Linked DNA regions of Homo sapiens: region 1 is linked to region 2. Evidence: promoter capture Hi-C in 16 types of primary human blood cells and fetal thymus (Javierre and others, 2016). All regions are on one chromosome and are shown on one strand. Each heading gives the region's core, a stretch centred on a gene start or on the middle of the fragment in contact. The rest is flanking DNA. Distances are from core to core; before and after follow the strand shown. Region 1 holds the start of CHLSN (cholesin). Region 2 holds the start of GPER1 (G protein-coupled estrogen receptor 1).

Region 1 (3,511 bases), core at 177-2,676, 50 kb after region 2:
AGGTTCACATAGTAGCTCAAGCTTAAAACCTTGGTCCATCCATAAATCCTCTCTTTCTCACATACTCGTCCAACCCACCACAAACTCCTGTTGGTTTACCACTGAAATACACCCAGAATGTGACTCCCTTAAGATCCCATAGGTACCCAGTCCAAGCCACCACCTCTCACGATGGCTTTTAAACTCCTAAATCAGATGGTGTGTCACCTCCACTCAAAAAACTTCCCAAGCTGTCCCCTTCCACTTGGAGGGAAAGTCAAGGTCCTTGCCACTTGGTAAGGTCCACACGACTGCCCTGGCCCCTCCTCGCATCTCTGGGAACTCACCTCCTCTTTCTCTCTCTGTTCCCAAATTGGCTGCAGCCACACTGGGCTCCCTGCTGTTTCCCCTGCACCTGCTGTTTCCTCGACCTGGAATGTTCTGGTGCCTCACTCCTCCTCCTGCTTCCTTTCCATTCTCAAAACCCCTGTTCTCATCTTCTCCATGGCACTTACCATCACCTGCTCTGTGCACCTTGTTCATCTGTCTCTCCCCTCCAGAATGGAAGTTCACTAGATCACAGACTTGTCTCCACTTGTTGACAGCTGTAGCCCAATGCCCCGAACAGTGCAGGAGGAACCCAATGAACGTTTTTTAAAAATGAATGAATGAATGACGGAAGGAAGGAAACGGAAAGCATGCTTATGATGGAAAGTGAGGCCAAGCGCGTTGGCTCACTCCTGTAATCCCAGCACTTTGGGAGGCCGAGGCAGGAGGATCCATCGCTTGAGCCCAAGAATTCGAGACCAGCCTGGGTAACATGGTGAGACCCCATTTCTACAAAAAACATTTTTAAAAATTATCCGGGTGTGGTGGCGCGCGCATGTGGTCCCAGCTACTTGGGAGGATGAGGCGGGAGGACGGCTTGAGCCCAGGAGGTGGAGGCTGCAGTGAGCTATGATCACGCCATTGCACTCCAGCCTGGGTGGCACAGCGAGACACTGCCTCAAAAATTGAAAAAGAGAAAGTGGGAGCTGAAAGCCTCGGAGGGCAATCAGGGCGTCTTCAGAGAAAGACAATGAAACCAGAGCCACTGCAAGCCCTGACGGCCTGAAACCTAGGAGCCAGCTGAGTCCCTTCCACTCGCCCGCGCTGAGTTAACCCAGAGGCGGGTGCGGGTGTCGGAGCCCGCGCCGGGACGCACCGGCCGCACCGGCCGCACCAGCCTCCCCAGCACCGCGGACCCCAGGGCCGCCGCCCGGTCGCGCCGCGCCGGGCCTCCGCGCACCCACGTGGAGGGGGCGGAGCCCCGCGGGAGCCCGCCCCGGGGCTCTGGGTCTCCTGGCGCCCTGACCCGCCGGCCACCCCGCCGCCGCCCCACGCGCCTACCTGCGCCCACCTGCGCCCACGTCGCCCACCTAAGCGTGAACAGCTGCGTCGCGGACGCCGCCTTCCGGCAGGGACCCGCGCCCCAGGTAAGCGTTAGTCCCGCCTTCAGGAGTGCGGAGCCTCCCATTGGACGAGGTCTGCGTCCGTCTCTCCGCCGGCTAATGGCAAGCGGCGGCAGCACGGGGGGCGGTTCCAGGACCGGGCGCGGGCTACTGACGCCATCTCTAGAGGCCTAGAGTTGCTTGGAGAGGAGCTGGTTGCCAAGGCAACCCGCCCTGCCCAGAACAAGTGCAGATGACTAGGTTTGGGCCCCGCAGGGCTTGGGGGTCTGGGGTGCAAGCTGCCCCGGCCGGGCTGGCGTCCCGGGGTGGGGCCTCCGCCGAGGGTCCAGGGTATGGAGCTCGGCTCGGAGTCGAAATGGATGAGCTACGGCTATTGGGATCAACAGGGCTAGGACTTAAACTTCGTGCTGAATTTAAAAAATCAGGATAGGTGCTAAAAAATACACAGGGTGGGTAGTGTTATAATAATGCTTGTGTCCGGGAGCGGTGACTCACGCCTGTGATCCCAGCATTTTGGGAGGCCCAGGCGGGCGGATCGCTTGAGCTCAGGAGTTCGAGACCCGCCTGGCCAACATGACGAAACCCCGTAACCCCGTCTCTGCTAAAAATACAAAAATTAGCCAGGCGTGGTGGCAGGTGCCTGTAATCCCAGCTACTCGGGAGGCTGAGGCAGGAAAATCGTTTAAGCCCGGGAGGTGGAGGTTGCAGTGAGCCGAGATCGTGCCACTGCACTCCAGCCTGGGCGACAGAATGAGACTCTGTTTTAAAAAATAAAAAATAAATTAAAAAAATAAAAATTAGCCGGGTATGGTGGCACGTGCCTGTAGTTCCTGATACTCTGGACGCTGAGGTGGGAGGATCGCTGGAGCCTGGGAGATGGAGGCTGCAGTGAGCTATGATCAAGGCACTGCACTCCAGCCTGGGCAACAGAGCCAGACCCCGTCTAAAAAAAAAAAAGAAAAAAAAGCATGCTTTCAAGTCACCCAGTAAGTTAAGTGCTTGGCAGCCGTATCAAGTATGATGTACGTTGCCTCAGGAATCCAAAGGTGACAAGCAAAGAAGGTGCACTCTTCCTTACTGGTAGAAGATTGTATTTGGTTCCTTTTTCTGCATAACAAATTAACCCAACATTTAGCAGCCTAAAAGAACATTTATTTTTTCATGGTATCCGCGGTCAGGAAAGTGGGCGTGGCTAAGCTCTGTGCCTTTGCCTCAAGGGTTCACCAAGTTGTGGTCAAGGTGTCCCCCCAGGGTTGTGGTTTCATCGGAAAGCTTATCTGGAATGATCCACTCCCAAGCTCACACACACGGATATTGTAAGGACTCAGTCCTCCAAGGTCATTAGAGAAGGGCCTCAGCCTTGCTGGCTGCTGCCCAAAGGCCACCCTCAGTTCCTTGGTACATGGGCCTTACCACAAGGAAGCTCACAACACTGCAGCTGGCTTGCCTTAGACGGTGCAAGCACACACAAGAGGAGGCACACACAAGACGCACATCACAGTCTCCTTGCACCCTAATCTCAGAAGTGACTTCCCTAGGCTTTTGCCATATTCTGTTCATTAGAAGTCGGCCGGGTGCGGTGGCTCACACCTGTAATCCCAGCACTTTGGGAGGCTGAGGTGGATGGATCACTTGAAGTCAGGAGTTCAACACCAGCCTGGCCAACGTGGCAAAACTCCATCTCTACTAAAAATACAAAAATTAGCCAGGCATGGTGGCATGTACCTATAATCCCAGCTACTCAGGAGGCTGAGGCATCAGAACCTATTGAACCCGGGAGGCAGAGGTTGCAATGAGCTGAGACCGCGCCACTGCACTCCAGCCTGGGCGACAGAGCAAGACTCCAGCTCAAAAAAAAAAAAAAAAAAAAAGTGAATCATGGCCAGGTGCAGTGACTCAGGCCTGTAATCCCAGCTCTTTGGGAGGCTGAGTCAGGAGGATGGATGGACACCAGGAGTTCAAGACCAGCCTGGGCAAACAGTAAGACCTCATGTCTACAAAAATAAAAATAGAAAATTAGCTGGGTGTGGTGGTGCACGCATATAGTCCCAGCTACTTAGGAGGCTGAGGTGGAAGGATTG
Region 2 (3,521 bases), core at 43-2,542:
CAGCGGACAAAGGATCACTCAGCATTCAATCTCACCACTTCAAAACATTACAGAGGGAAAACGACACCTAGAAGTAGGAGTGAGATTCGCTGAAGTTCCCTTCTGAGGAAGACCCACCCCTCCGCCTGGAGAGCCGGGGCTGGCGGTGCCTGAGGACCCCTTCGGCCTGGACAGCCCACGCGGGCTTGGGGGGCCTCGCTCTGCCCTCATGGGGCGGCCATCGGTTCCCGAAGCGGCGAGTGAAAATTCAAATGGCCAGTAGGGGGCGCACTCGGAAGTGGCCGCCCCGCATGAGGCAGTTCAGCGGCCCCGAGAGTCCGGGGAGGGAGGTTTATTCTCCGCCTGCACGAGACTGTGAAATCCGCAACCATGAGCAGGAGAGGCGGCCCTGGTGGGGAAGAGGCCACCAACATCTGGACGGCAGGTAAGTTCCGACGCTTCTGCAGCGAGCGCGGGAGGAGGGACCTGAGGCACCGCTAACACTCAGAGAAAACTACCGGCTGAGGGTCCCTGGTCTGAATGCTTGGGACCGGAAGAGTTTCGGAGTTCAGATTTTTGCAGATTTTGGAATATCTGCAGGTACAGAATGAGAAAGCTAAATACGAAATTCATTTGTGTTTCATACACACCTTATACACACTGCCTGAAGGCAACTTTATAAAAACACTTTTAACAATTTCATGCATAAAACAAACTTTGAACTGCCTGGACTGCAGCCCGCCACACGAGGTCAGGTGTGGAATTTTCCACTTGTGTCACGACGCTCCAACAGTGTCGGACTGTGGGGCACTCTGGATTTCAGATTTCCAGATGCTTAACCAGTACTCAGATTCCTAAGTTACTTGTCAGAAATGCCTATTTCTTGGGATTACACTTCTCTCTGCAAATGTCTGTGAAATTCCTGTTAAATTCTTTATGGATCATGCACATGCTACTAAGTTAATTATGAAATTTAGTGTTTAACGCAGGTCAGTTGCAAAAACAAGAATATTGCTTGCTTCAACCCAGGAGGACAGGTTATTGCCTAAAAGATACACAACACCTAGTATGATGCCTTCAAACTTAAAGAAAGGTTTGTATCTGTGGGTGAAGAAAAGCAGTTAAACCAGAAACTTCCACAAAAACAAGTCTAGTAGAACTGAGCTGATTGCCAAAGTGTGGGAGAAAAAGGGCCAGCAAAAAAATGGTTAACACTAGCCTTCTGAGGAGGCCGCCCAGAGCCTGGCCAGAGAGGAGCCAGAGAGGAGCGGGGCGGAGGGGGCCTATAAAGCCCTGTGCCAAGGGGCAGACTCACTGGCTCAGAGGGAGGACGCACCCGCCAGCCAGCCGGGAACCTTCCCTCGCGGGCTCCCAGGGCGGGTCTCTTCCTCTCTCTAGCCCTGCTCAGGCATTCGGCAGGTCCAGCAGAGGTACACCTCCTGCAGCGGGTTCCAAGTGCACCTCCAGCCTGATGGGCCTGACCAAGGAGGCTTCCAGGAGCACAGAAGGGGCTGCAACCCAGGTAGGACTCAGCCTCGGCCTGGCGGTGCCATACCACTGACTAGGGGAGCGGGTGGGTGGTGCCACCCAGGCCGCTGTCCTGTTATGGGAACAGCTGAACACAGACCAGACACCTCACCCCCTGGTGAGAGCAGCACCCAGCTTCCCAAACTCAAGGCACAGACCCCTCTCCCCCGGAGCTCCGGTGGTCTCAGCGTGACCGCAGCAGGGGCTTTGCCTGGACGGCCTTTCTAACTCGTGCTGAAAGCAGGACCCAGTATTCCGTCACGTTCTGTCCCAGCAAGAACGTGTCTCACTTCAAGAAAATGAGGGTGCCCACTCTGCCCTGCCCTGCGGTGCCCCAGTCACTCTCACCAACCCTGAAGCCCTGGGAGGGCCACACGCCTTTTGACAGATGCAGACTTAATACAGCTGACTAAAGTGTGGCTTTATTTCTCTATGACAAGCAGAGGAAATCTGAAATGAGGTATTGCACTGTTTATAACTCCATGGCCACCTCCAGTGAGGACGTGGGGCCAGTGGTGAATGGCACACTAGGTTCCTCTCACCCAGGACCACATCAGACACTAGGACACATCAGACACCAGGTCCCGTATCTTCTCGGTGTCTGGCAACGATCAAAAGACTCAATTTACATGGGAAAGAAATGAATGACTCGTTTTTAAACTATTTTTCCCTTGGAGTTCATTTAACAAAATTAGGAAAGAAAATAAACGTTAAGTTGAGGGTTCTGCCCACCTTTAAACTTCCTGCCACGCCACGGTCTAATACGTTCCAAAATTTCTACATTTAAAGAGCAAAACAAGTCCTCTGTGCCGTTTTTAAGAAATTAAATACAGAGGCGAAATGCGGAGTCTTTCAACCTTCCCGACAGAGCCTGAGAGCAGAGGCATTTATGCTGTTCAATGGTATTATCTACTAAAGATGAATCAAGAGTGCAAAATAACCAAAATCAAATTCACCAGCCCCAGCTAAGTGAAGGTTATTCAGTACTTTTAGAATAACTGACACAGAGGCAGTGATTCATCTTGTCTTCCCCACCCGCCTGTTTTTGAGATGGGGCCTCACTGCAGTAGCTCAGGCTCGAGTGCAGTGGTGTGATCTCGGCTGAGGCTCGAGTGCAGTGGTGTGATCTCGGCTGAGGCTCGAGTGCAGTGGTGTGATCTTGGCTCACTGCAACCTCTACCTGCCAGGCTCAGGCGATCCTCCTGCCTCAGCCTCCCGAGTAGCTGGGACTACAGGCGCACACCACTATGCCCAGCTACTTTTTTTGTCTTTTTTTAGTAGAGACAGGGTTTCGCCATGTTACCCAGGCTGGTCTCGAACTCCTGAACTTGAGCAATCCTCCCACCTCATCTTCCTGAAGTGCTGGGATTATAGGCCAGCCTTTTTTTTTTTTTTTTTTTTAAGTAAGTATTTTCAAGCAATAGGTCAACAAATCTCTAGTCTGGTTTTGCAGCACTTCAAAACAATAACCCCTGGCCCGGCGCGGTGGATCACACCTGTAATCCCAGCACCGTGGGAGGCCAAGGCGGGCAGATCACTACAGGTCAGAAGTTCGATACAAGCCTGGGCAACATGGTAAAACCCCATCTCTACTAAAAATATAAAACATTAGCCAGGCGTGGTGGTGCACACCTATAATCCCAGATACTCAGGAGGCTGAGGCAGGAGAACCACTCTAACCCGGGAGGCGGCAGTTGCAGTGAGCCGAGATTGTGCCACTGCACTCCAACCTGGGTGACCAAAAAAAAAAAACATTCAAAACAATAACTCCTAATGATTTCAAAAGGTAAAATGAAAATTCCCAAAGGAAAAACAACTCAAACCCATTTTGAAGTGTTAGTTTACTCCAGGGCACCAGCACCATCTGGGCCAGGTAATTCTCTGCTGGGCTTGGGCACCTGTCCTAGGCACTGTAGGGAGCTGAGCGGCAGCCCTGGCCCCACCAGCACCCCCCTGTGACTGCCCCCGCATCCCCAGAGACTGCCAGTGTCTGCAGGCTGAGACCCCCGTGGCCC

Evidence for each region. The method cuts DNA at HindIII sites, captures the fragments that hold promoters and counts their contacts. A CHiCAGO score of 5 or more calls a contact.
Region 1: a contact is called between the fragment with the promoter of CHLSN here and the fragment with the promoter of GPER1 in region 2, in 1 of 17 cell types (M2 macrophages). The highest score is 7.8, in M2 macrophages.

What each region holds. Positions count from the first base shown.
Region 1 is chr7:1,136,821-1,140,331 of GRCh38, forward strand. CHLSN (cholesin) reads right to left here and starts at 1,427. Exons shown (of 5, transcript NM_001318252.2): 1 at 495-1,427. RefSeq lists silencers at 987-1,036, 1,047-1,496, 1,697-1,836 and an enhancer at 1,557-1,656. The HindIII fragment of the contact is 2,681 bases long and covers 20-2,700 here.
Region 2 is chr7:1,086,821-1,090,341 of GRCh38, forward strand. GPER1 (G protein-coupled estrogen receptor 1) reads left to right here and starts at 1,293. Exons shown (of 2, transcript NM_001098201.3): 1 at 1,293-1,501. The region is part of intron 2 of CHLSN (cholesin); the gene reads right to left. The HindIII fragment of the contact is 14,676 bases long and covers 1-3,521 here.